Regions from separate parts of the Homo sapiens genome. Here regions 1, 3 and 4 are each linked to region 2. Evidence: promoter capture Hi-C in 16 types of primary human blood cells and fetal thymus (Javierre and others, 2016). All regions are on one chromosome and are shown on one strand. The core of a region is centred on a gene start or on the middle of the fragment in contact, and the rest is flanking DNA. Distances in the headings are between cores, read along the strand shown. Region 1 holds the start of ZNF771 (zinc finger protein 771). Region 2 has its middle 15 kb from the start of ALDOA. Region 3 holds the start of SPN (sialophorin). Region 4 holds the start of C16orf54 (chromosome 16 open reading frame 54).

Region 1 (2,700 bases), core at 102-2,601, 360 kb before region 2:
TGCATGCCTGTAGTCCCAGCTACTTGGGAGGCTGAGGTGGGAGGATCACCTGAGCCCAGGGAAGTCAAGGCTGCAGTGAGCTGTACTGCACTACAGCTTGGGTGACTGAATGAGACCCTGTCTCAAACAATAACAACAGTAATAATAAAAGAGCCATTTCCTCTGACTGGGTCCATCACCCCACTTCTGACCCCAGACTCCTACTAGTCTCACATAAGCCATCCTTTTACTTTGAGACCTGTGGCCAGTTACCAAACTGCCCTGGGCCTCAGTCTCCTCATCTGTAAAATGGAATAAATGCTACCGACATCATAGAATCGAGGTGCTTAGAACAGTGCCTGGCACATAGAAAATGCTAGGCAAGGGTTAGCTATTGTTACTGTTGCTGTTGAACTAACCTGACCTTTCCCCAACCTCTAAATCTGAGTTAAGTTCCCACTTCTAGGCTTCATCATCCCCCTGTACCTGCAGCCATCACACGGGATTCTAACTGTGTGGTTACCCTTCAGTCTAACATCAAGCTCCATGGGGGATCCAAGGACGGAGTTTAATCTCCTGCACCCAGCAGGAAGCCTGGGACAGTAGGCGTGACTTTTGTATGATGGAAGCCCAGGCAGTAGGGCAGAAGGATGGGCCAATCCTGAGGTTTTAGATCCGAGATTCTGGGAAAAGTAGGGGCAAGATCCCTGGCTTCTATCTGAGGGAGGCTGGGCCTGGACCAGGTTTGGGGACAGTGTGCCCCAGGGTGTGTGTGACACATACCTCCTTGTTGTCCATGGGGATCTTGAGTTTCACCACCTCATACTTCTCCTCACCCTCATCCTCCTCACCCTTCACCAGCAGCACCATCTCCTCCTGCATCTCTTCCTCCTCCTCTTCCTCTGCCTGCTGTTCGCCAGGCATCTTGGTGTCCTGAGGCGGGGAGCTGGATCAGAAGCTCAGGACCCGCCCCCCCCCACCCCCCCCCCCGCCCACCGTGGCCCTGGCCCAGCAAGGCAGTGCAGCCGTGGCTTCTCCCGCCCTGCCCTGGTCTCCGAATCTGGTCCTCTCCCGTCCACCCCAGCCCGGCCCCACGCTCTGGCACAGCCCCGGGACCAGCTCCGAGGGCTCGCGTTCACCCCACTCATCCCAGCATTCAAGGCCTTGAACAGTTCGAATCTCCAGCCCCCGCAAGTCGCCACCATCCTTGCGCTGAGTCACTCCCCAGGGCCCGGGTCGGCGACCTGGAGCTCTGGGGCACGGGCTGGAGGCGGGATCGGGGCGGAAACCCCGGGGAGGGGGTGCGCACTCACCAGCCGAAGGTTCGGCACTCGCGGTGCCCCAGGCCTGGGCGCCGGGCGGCTGGGCACTCAGCGAGGCCGCGGCTCCGGGGGCGGGGAGGGGGCGGGACCGCAGGGACGGCCGGTCATTGGTCCGAACATATAGCCCCACCCCCTGGGGCGGAGCCCGAAGGACCCAGGCGTCCGGCCCAAACGGCTCGGAGAGGGCGGCGAGCTCAGACTTGGCGTCCTCCGCAGTCCCCCGACTCCCAAGCACCTGGAGCCGCCCCAGCCCGGCGTTCAAGGTCCTTGCCGCCGAGTTCCAACCTAACCTCGCGGCCCGTCTCCTGGGGCCGGCTTGGAGGTCTCCGCTGCGCCCAGTGCCTCTGCTCCGCCCGAAATAGGCCACGTGCGCTCCCGCCCCGGCCTGGGCCTCTCCCTGGCGCCCCGCCTGGAGGGCGGACCCTGTTGCCTCCTCACTTCTTCCATTCCCTCTTTATCTCCTCTGCCGTCTTTTCTCCATCTTTCTCGGCTTCGCCTATTCCGCTGGCCTCTGGGATATCCTTGAATACATCCTAACCAATTCAACATCCACCCAAGCTACCGCTGTCGCGTCATGCGTGGGGTGCTTACCATGCGCCAGCGCTGTTCAGCGTCTTACATACCTGGTCTCATTTGATCCGCATAACGATGGGTCCTGATCCATTTTACAGATGAGCTCACTGAAGTTCAGGGAGGTAAACTGATTTGCCTAAGTTACACGATAAGGATGTCATAGCATCCCTGACAATCAGTAGCCTAGGTGAACAACAGCCCAAAGCTAAATCCAGTCCACAGGGGTACCTTGTTTGGCCCTTAGGGTATTTTTACTTTTAAAAAATCTTTTCGGACGGGCACGGCGGCTCACGCCTGTAATCCCAGCACTTTAGGAGGCCGAGGCGGGCGGATCACGAGGTCAGGAGATAGAGACCATCCTGGCTAACACGGTGAAACCCCGACTCTACTAAACAAAATACAAAAAATTAGCTGGGCGTGGTGGCGGGCACCTGTAGTGCCAGCTACTCGGGAGGCTGAGACAGGAGAATGGCGTGAACCCGGGAGGCGAGCTTGCAGTTAGCCGAGATCGCGCCACTGCGCTCCAGCCTGGGCGACAGAGCGAGACTCCGTCTCAAAAAAAAAAAAAAAAAAAAAAAAAAAAAATCGTTTCAAAGCCGGGCGCGGTGGCTCATGCCTGTAATCCCAGCACTTTGGGAGGCGGAGGCCGGTGGATCACTTGAGGTCAGGATTTCGAGACCAGCCTAACCAACATGGTGAAACCCCGTCTCTACTAAAAATACAAAAATTAGCCAAGCTTGGTGGTGCATGCCTGTAATCCCAGCTACTCGAGAGGCTGAGGCACGAGAATTGCTTGAACTGGGGAGGCAGTGGTTGCAGTGAGCCG
Region 2 (2,700 bases), core at 173-2,672:
TGCCCAGCCTTTTTTTCTGAATTTTTAGAGATGTGGTCTTGCTATGTTGTTAAGGCTGGTCTTGAACTCCTGGGCTCAAGCAGTCCTCCAGCCTCAGCCTCCCAGGTAGCTGGGATTACAGGCATAAGCCACCTTCAGTAGGATCTGCTGAAGCTTCCTGAACCAGTGTGTAGGGTCTCACATTTCCACAGCTTTGCAGTTGCTGATCCCTCTGCCTGGAACACCCTCTGTCTTCCCCTCAAACCTCTTCCTCATCCCTCAAGCACGTCCTCAGTTTTGCCTCTGTGAGGTCTCCCTGCCAACCTCAGGCAGAGGTGGCTGCTTTGGACTGTGAATTCCCACAGCATCCTACAGATACTGTTGTTCTCGCACTTCTCACAAGATACTTGAATTCCTCACTTCCATGTCTGGCTCCACAATTAGACTGCAAGTGTCTGGGGCCTGGTCTGAGTCATCTCCGTATCCTGAGCTCTAGTACTTGGCCTAGCCCTGGGAGCCTTGGTGAATACTCACTGATTCTTTTTCTTTCTTTCTTTCTTTTTTCTTTTCTTTTCTTTTTTTTTTTTTTTTTTGAAACGGAGTTTTGCTCTTGTCGCCCAGGCTGGAGTGCAATGGTGTGATCTCAGCTCACTGCAACCTCCGCCCTGGATTCAAGCAATTCTCCTGCCTCAGCTTCCAGAGTAGCTGGAAGTGCCACCATGCCCAGCTAATTTTGTATTTTTAGTAGAGACGGGGTTTGTCCATGTTGGTCAGGCTGGTCTCGAACTCCCGACCTTAGGTGTTCTGCCCGCCTTGGCCTCCCAAAGTGCTGGGATTACAGGTGTGAGCCACTGCGCCTGGCCTGTTTTTTTCTTTTAATAAAGTAGACATGGGGTCTCACTATGTTGGCCAGGCTAGTCTCCAACTCCTGCCTCAAATGATCCTCCCACCTCGGCCTCCCAGGTTGCTGGTATTACAGGCCAGAGCCACTGCACTCAGCCAATACTCACTGATTCTATGAATGAATTGAAACCAAACACCATCCACGAATGAAGCATTGTTTTCCACACGTCCTAATTTCCTTGGCTTTCAAGGCACTCAGACCTCCCCGTTTCATTCCTAACCTTTTTAGATCACACACACACAGACACTTGCACACACCCACACATGCACGCTCACACAAGCACCCCTCTCTATGGAGGCCTCCGACTTCCTAAACGATGGCTGAATCCTGGCATTTTCCCCTAAAAACAATGCCACCATATACCTATTTTTGTCCATGTTCTCCACCCCAACATACCTCACCACAGCTGCTGCTCCTGGGGTTTCCTACACCATGAGGCAGCCACGGAAACTGCCAGGGGCTGTGTCCCTGGATCCAAATCTTCCCTCCCACTGTCAACCATACTGAGGTGGTCTCAGCCACCCTCTTGGCCACCCCTGGCCCTCTCAGAGGGCGTTTCAAGCCCAGAAAACAGAAGTCTAGCTGTTGCTAATGTCACCATTATTGATCCTAAAGAAGATTGTCTTCTTAGGCTGTCTTCCGGTTTTTGTTTTTGTTTTTGTTTTTTTTGAGACAGAGTCTCACTCGGTAGCCCAGGCTGGAGTGCAATGGCACAATCATGGCTCACCACAACAGCCTCGACCTCCTGGCTCAAGGGATCCTTCCACCTCAGTCTCCCAAGTAGCTGAGACTACAGGTGCATGCTACGACACCCAGCTAATTTTTAAAATTTTTTGTATAGACGGGGTCTCACTGTATTGCTCAGGCTGTTTTTGAACTCCTGGGCTCAGGCGATCCTCCTGCCTCAGCCTCTCGAATTGCTGGGATTACAAGCGTGAACCACTGTGCCCGGCCTTGGGCGGTCTTATTGTCTGATGGAATCCTGAGGACCAAGTTGAGGCCAGTTCTCACCTCAGCCCTACAAAAGGCCTCCAGGAACACATATTCTGCATATTCTGCCAACAGAGAGACTTCAGCCTTGGCAAGGCCCCTGGACACGTCCGTGGCCTGCAGTGCCCAGACTCGCTGGTGCTGGTGTTTTGTTCCTACCATGGGCTCATACATTATGCAGGAGCACGGGCAGTGCCCCAGGCTTGTGTGTTGCCAGGCAAGCCAAGACAAGGGATGATGTATGCACCCCACTTTGCCAAGGCCCCATTTCTTTTCTTTCTCTTTTTTTTTTTTTTTGAGATGGAGTCTTGCTCTGTTGCCCACGCTAGAGTGCAGTGGTGCGATCTCAGCGCACTGCAACCTCTGCCTCCCAAGTTGAGTGATTCTCCTATCTCAGCCTCCCAAATAGCTGGGATTACAGACGCATGCCACCATGCCCGGCTAATTTTTGTATTTTTAGTAGAGACAGGGTTTCACCATGTTGGCCAGGCTAGTCTTAAACTCCTGACCTTGTGATTTGTCCACGTCGGCCTCCCAAAGTGCTGGGTTACAGATGTGAGCTACTGCGCCTGGCTGTGCCGAGGCCCCACTTCTATCCACATCACAACATTTGCTGGGGGCAGAGAAAAACTGACTTCACAATAGCCAGCTAACCGCAAAGTCTCCTCTCCCGAAGTTGGAAGCTGGAGATGTCAGATGTATCATATGTAGTTCCGCACTTCCCCTAGGAAAGGGCAGACAGGATTGTATACTTCCAATAATCGTGGGGTGGGTGGGAGATCAGAGATGCAGAGTTCCCAGAAGATGAAAGAAGCTTCAGCAGGCTT
Region 3 (2,700 bases), core at 182-2,681, 390 kb after region 2:
CTGTCACGGCCCCCTCCTCAGGGACCTGGGCTGGCCCAGCCCAGGCGTCCACCACCCCGTTACGCTTGCCGCCTCTGCTCAGCACGAGGGCCCCAGTCCGCCGCTTCTGCCGCCGGCGCCACAGCAGGAGCAGAGCCACGAGGACTATGACCGCCAGCAGGGCCACAAGCACAGCCACTGGCAGCATGCCTCGTGAGTTCTCATCTGGGTTCCGGAAGGGCACAGTGCTTGCGTTGGTGGAGGTCGTTGGAGACATCATTGTAGATAGTTTTACGCTAGAGACCTGGGGTCCACTGGCCCCGCTGGAGGGCTCCAGAGAGCCAGTTGTCATGGTAACAGGGGGTCCAGTGGTCCCAGTGGAGGTCTCCAGAGAGTCAGTTGCCATGGTAACAGGGGGTCCAGAGGTGCCTTTGGAAGTCTCCAGAGAGACAGTTGCCATGGTAAGAGGGGGTCCAGAGGTGCCTCTGGAGGTCTCCAGAGAGCTAGCTGCCGTGGTAACAGGGGCTCCACTGGTCCTACTGGAGGTTTCTGGAGAGTTCGTTGTTATGGTTCCACCTGTCACGGTGTGGGATCCTAGAGAGTTTGCTGTTATGGGAACAGCAGGATGACTGGTTGCATGAGGGGTTTCCTGGGGCACTGATGACATCTTGATGGAAACTTCCTGGTAGGTTGTTGGCTCAGGTAAAGGGGAACCAGTGCTGGCACCAATGGAAGTCCAAAGAGGGGATCCCTCATTGATGGAAGTTGAGGGAGGTAGGGCTGAGGTCTGGTCCCCAGTGCTGTCGGCCTTAGGGTCACTTGTTATTGAAGTGGTGTACATCTTTGAGCTCAGGGGCTCGCTAGTAGAGACCAAAGGCTCTCCGGAGGTGGGTGTCTGCACTGCTGTTGTGCTCCCCAGAGCGTCTGGGCTTACCACCAGCACCCCAAGGAGAAGGAGAAGCGTGGCCATTTCCAGGCAAACAGGCAGGAGCAAGAGCTGGGACCTGCAGGTGGGCAGCCGGAGAAGCAGAACACGCGGGAGTTGCCGGAGGACCTGGCCGGGCCTCCCCTCTGCCCACTTCCCTGCCAACGGCCAGGCCCAACCTGCGGTTTAACGGTTTTTTCCATGCTGGCTTTTACTGTTATCAGAAATGACAGAGGAACAGATGCTGGCAGCTCCCCCATCAGCCCCATCCTGAGGCTCCCTCCAGCCTCAGCAGCTTAGATTCCAGCAGTGACCAGCCCCTCCTGGCCTTCCCTGACCCTGTGCAGCCCAATGGCTCCCAATCTCTTCCCATCATAACCTGTCAGAGTCTTTTCAAGCCACAGGCACATTCCCAGGCCCACTGAGGCCCCTACCCCACCAAGTCTCACCCTCTTACCGGCTCGGCTGATAAGGACGCAGCACTGGGGCCAGGTCACTCCACCACCTCCCGAGGCTGGGGCAAGACTGGGAAGGACAGGGCCCCAAGGGGAAAGGAAGTGGGCCCTGGCTCCACCCACCCCACCCACCCCTCCATCCTGCCCCACCCGCCTGCTCCCACAGCTGCTGGGCGAAGACAGCACCATCACCTGCTCCTTCAGGGGCCAGCGGGGTGCCTGGGGGTCTGGGGCTCACCTGAGGGAGGCAGGGAAGCGTGGGATCTGGAATCAGGATTCCTGGCTCTTGGCTGAGGAATGGGATGGAAGTGGTGATGCTAGGGAGGGCTGGGCTCAGAGGTGGGTGGTGGGAATGTGAGCCTGAGAACTCAAGGGTGCAGAGGAGGAGGTGGGAGGGGAGGGTGGTTTCCTTTGCATTTGTGGTCCCCAAGCTGTTAGGCCAGGAGCTGAGTGGCGCCATTTCCTGCCCTCAGAGCTCCCAGGAAGTAGCAGGGCAAGAGGAAGCCCCCGAGTCTGGCTGGGGGCCGTGAAAACCTTTGCAGGCTGGTGAGCTCTTGACTCTGTCCGGGGAGCTGGGGGTCACCACAGTGGCCCCCAGTCACAGAGACGTGGCTAAACCAAGGTGGTTCCTACACACTGCATATGCTAGGATCTTATTTCTGCAAACTAGTAAAGATGTGGGAATCTTTTTTTTTTTTTTTAAGGCGGAGTTTAGTGCAATGGCATGATCTTGGCTCGGCTCAGCACAATGTCTGCCTCCTAGGTTCAAGCAATTCTCCTGCCTCGGCCTCCTGAGTAGCTGGGATTACAGGCTTGCACCACTGTGCCCGGCTAATTTTGTATTTTTCGTAGAGACGAGGTTTCTCCATGTTGGTCAGGCTGGTCTCGAACTCCTGACCTCAGGTGGTCCATCCGCCTCAGCCTCCCCAAGCGCTAGGATTACAGGTGTGAGCCACCGCGCCTGGCCAGATATGGGAATCTATATGGAAAACCGTCTGGAAAGATATCTACTAAGGGATTCACCTAATTGTCTTTGGATAGGTGAGAGTAGGAGGTGGGGGTATTTTCTTCTTTGAATGGTTCCCATTTCCTGACTTTCCTCTAATTAGCAAGCTTTGACTCTCGGTTTGTGTATGTTTTTGGTTTTTGTTCTTGAAAAACGAAAATCAGTCCCGGGTGTGGTGATACATTATGCTGGCAGTCCAGGCCAAAGTGGGAGGACCTCCTGAGCCCAAGAGTTTGAAACCAGCCTGGGCAACGTAGCAAAACTCCTATCACTAAAAAAATAAATAATTTTTTAAAATCAAAACTGATTTGTATATTTTAAGAGCAACATGTGCA
Region 4 (2,700 bases), core at 201-2,700, 300 kb after region 2:
TTTGTATTTTTAGTAGAGACGGGGTTTTGCCATGTTGGCCAGGCTGCTCCCAAACTCCTGACCTCAGGTGATCCACCCGCCTCGGTCTCCCAAAGTGCTGGGATTACAGGCATGAGCCACCTCGCCCAGCCCAGGGATTTCTATCTATTCTTCCACCACCCTGGCCACTACATGCTCACCCACACATACATTGGTCATGCGACTTTGGTCATGAAATCTCTTTTCTTTAAGCCTTACTTTTGTCATCTGTGGATGAGTCAAACTAGAGAATCTCAGAAAGTCACCTGGACTCCAGAGCCTGATGACATCTTGTCACACTCTGCTCCAGGCTCCTCCCACCCTCAGCAGCAGGAAAGAGGGACAGACATGAGGATGGTCAGGGTTTTGGAAACAGGCCCACGCCTGTTTTTATACCCTGGACTCCTCTCAGAGGCTTGACATTTTTGTTACCCAAGCCTCACCTCACTGATATTTTCCAACCAAAATGGGGGCTAAATGGTCTGAAGAGAGAGAGACTTATGTTAATTAAAAGTATGAGGCAGGGGCCAGTGTGGTAGCTCACACCTGTAATCCCAGCACTTTGGGAGGCTGAGGCAGGAGGATCTCTTGAGGCCAGGAGCTTGAGACCAGCCTGGGCAACATAGCAAGAGCCCATCTCTACCAGAAAAAAAAAAAAAAGGTGTGAAGCAAGCTGGCCAAGCAGGGGGTGCCTGTGGGGGCTGCATGGCAGGAGCAGATCTGGGGAGGCACCGTGGATAAGACAAGGCAGGATGGGGTGGGGCATCCTCCCAGGAGGAACGGGGGAGGCACCATGGTTCTCTGGGAATGTACGGGCTAAAGTCCCAGTGTCCTATTTCTTTTTCTTTTCTTTTCTTTTCTTTTTTTTTAAGACGGAGTCTCACTCTGTTGCCCAGGCTGGAGTGTGGTGGCACGATCTCAGCTCACTGCAACCTCCGAGTCCCGGGTTCAAGCGATTCTCCCTGCCTCAGCCGCCTGAGCAGCTGAGATTACAAGTGCCCGTCACCATGCCCAGCTAATTTTTGTATTTTTCAGTAGAGATGGGGTTTCGCCATGTTGGCAGGCTGGTCTCGAACTCCTGACCTCAGGTGACTTGCCCACCTTGACCTCCCAAAATGCTGGGATTACAGGGGTGAGCCACTGTGCCTGGCCCCGGCGTCCTCTTTCTCAGCTTTTCGGTGAATGTTCTGGGGCTCAGGGCCTGGCTATGGGGTGACACTAAGTTCAACAGAACCATTGCCCATTCCAGCCCCACCTTACCCCAGGAAAAGCCTCCTCACCGCAGTGACCACATCCCCTTGGGTTGCTTTGGAAACAAACACTCCCCAGGGGCAGACGAGTTGGGGCACAGTTGCCCAGCAACAGGCGGTGCCCTCCCTTCCGCCTTCATCCGAGGCCGGGCCTCTACGTCTGAGAGGCGGACCGCCCTGCACCCTCCAAGCCTGCACCTCTTAGTCCAGCACCAGGAAGAGTGGCTCTAGGAGGGAGAGGAGCCCAGGGACTGACCCAAGGTGAGTTGAGGGGTGCAGGAGGCCCCCTGCAGATGGAGGATGTGGGGGACAGAGAGGTGTGCAGAGACAAACGAGAGATAGAGACAGGCCAGAGCCTGGGCAAAGCTGGGGAGCCCAGGAGGGGTGCAGAGGCGCCTCCGGAGGCCTGGCCCGGCCCGGCCCGGCAGCAGATTCCGTGGAGCCTATGAGAGCAAGATCAAGTCCGAGGAGAATGGTGAGGGGCGAAGGAGCCTCAAGGGGCCAGCGGAGGTGCTGGCGGCAGGCGGTGGGGGAGACACACGCAGGGGAGCCAGTGGGAGGGGAGGTTCTCATTTCTTCACCCACCACTTCCTCTCTAGGTCTGAGCAAGACTTGAGGGGGCCGAGTGGGGAGGAAAGAAGCCCTTGAGACCTTTCTTGTCTGAGGCACCCTGGGGTCTGGGAGGGAAATGGGGATTCTGGAAAGGCCTGGAGAGCCAGGCAGGAGGGCCTGGCTGTGCCCCGAGGTAGGCTGCCTGTCCTCCCACCCCACCTGGCTCACGCTTACCCTTTCTGGTCCCTCTTGCTTCTCTGTCTCTCCAGAATGTTCTTTTTCATTTTTGAGAAAGGGTCTTGCTCTATTGCCCAGGCTGGAGGACAGTGGTGCAATCTGGGGTCACTGCAGCTTCAAACTCCTGGGCTCAAGTAATCCTCCCACCTCAGCTTCCTGTGTAGCTGGGACTACAGGTGTGAGCCACCACACCCAGCTAGTTTTTAAATTATTTTTAGAGATGAGGTTTCACTGTGTGTCCAGGCTGGTCTTGAACTCCTGGGCTCAAGTGATCCTCCCGCCTCGACCTCTCAAAGTGCTGGGATTCCAGGCATGAGCCCCCATGCCCAGCCCTTCTCCCAGGCTTTCCTGGACACCTGCTGCCTCTCTCTCATCTTGGTTGTGCCCCCTCTGCCTCATTTACTTCCTCTTCTCACCCCTGTGTCTCTCAGATGCCGTTGACTCCAGAGCCGCCCTCTGGGCGCGTGGAGGGGCCCCCCGCATGGGAAGCAGCCCCATGGCCCTCACTGCCCTGTGGGCCCTGCATCCCCATCATGCTGGTCCTGGCCACCCTGGCTGCGCTCTTCATCCTCACCACCGCTGTGTTGGCTGAACGCCTGTTCCGCCGTGCTCTCCGCCCAGACCCCAGCCACCGTGCACCCAC

The links. Contacts are between HindIII fragments. The CHiCAGO score rates a contact against its expected background, and 5 or more counts as called.
Region 1: a contact is called between the fragment with the promoter of ZNF771 here and a fragment that was not itself captured in region 2, in 7 of 17 cell types (fetal thymus, total CD4 T cells, naive CD8 T cells and 4 more). The highest score is 9.3, in fetal thymus.
Region 3: a contact is called between the fragment with the promoter of SPN here and a fragment that was not itself captured in region 2, in 10 of 17 cell types (naive CD4 T cells, activated CD4 T cells, naive CD8 T cells and 7 more). The highest score is 7.5, in naive CD4 T cells.
Region 4: the fragment with the promoter of C16orf54 here is called in contact with a fragment that was not itself captured in region 2 in 7 of 17 cell types (M1 macrophages, activated CD4 T cells, naive CD8 T cells and 4 more); the score reaches 7.9 in M1 macrophages.

Annotation. Positions count from the first base shown.
Region 1 is chr16:30,406,257-30,408,956 of GRCh38, reverse strand. ZNF771 (zinc finger protein 771) reads right to left here and starts at 1,351. Exons shown (of 3, transcript NM_001142305.2): 1 at 1,293-1,351; 2 at 763-912. The coding sequence starts at 903. RefSeq lists silencers at 1,216-1,425, 1,448-1,627. The HindIII fragment of the contact is 8,204 bases long and covers 1-2,612 here.
Region 2 is chr16:30,049,394-30,052,093 of GRCh38, reverse strand. It overlaps a transcript of TLCD3B not described here. Among named protein-coding and RNA genes, the nearest start is that of ALDOA, 15 kb to the left of the region's middle. The HindIII fragment of the contact is 2,534 bases long and covers 156-2,689 here.
Region 3 is chr16:29,661,978-29,664,677 of GRCh38, reverse strand. It overlaps SPN (sialophorin), which reads right to left and starts at 1,431. Exons shown (of 2, transcript NM_003123.6): 1 at 1,362-1,431; 2 at 1-983. The coding sequence starts at 949. RefSeq lists silencers at 327-446, 1,707-1,766 and enhancers at 1,947-2,026, 2,667-2,700. The HindIII fragment of the contact is 6,496 bases long and covers 1-2,474 here.
Region 4 is chr16:29,744,740-29,747,439 of GRCh38, reverse strand. C16orf54 (chromosome 16 open reading frame 54) reads left to right here and starts at 1,450. Exons shown (of 2, transcript NM_175900.4): 1 at 1,450-1,529; 2 at 2,489-2,700. The coding sequence starts at 2,489. LOC124903673 (a long non-coding RNA gene) reads right to left here and starts at 2,193. Exons shown (of 2, transcript XR_007065046.1): 1 at 2,055-2,193. RefSeq lists enhancers at 514-583, 1,111-1,160. The HindIII fragment of the contact is 10,190 bases long and covers 1-2,700 here.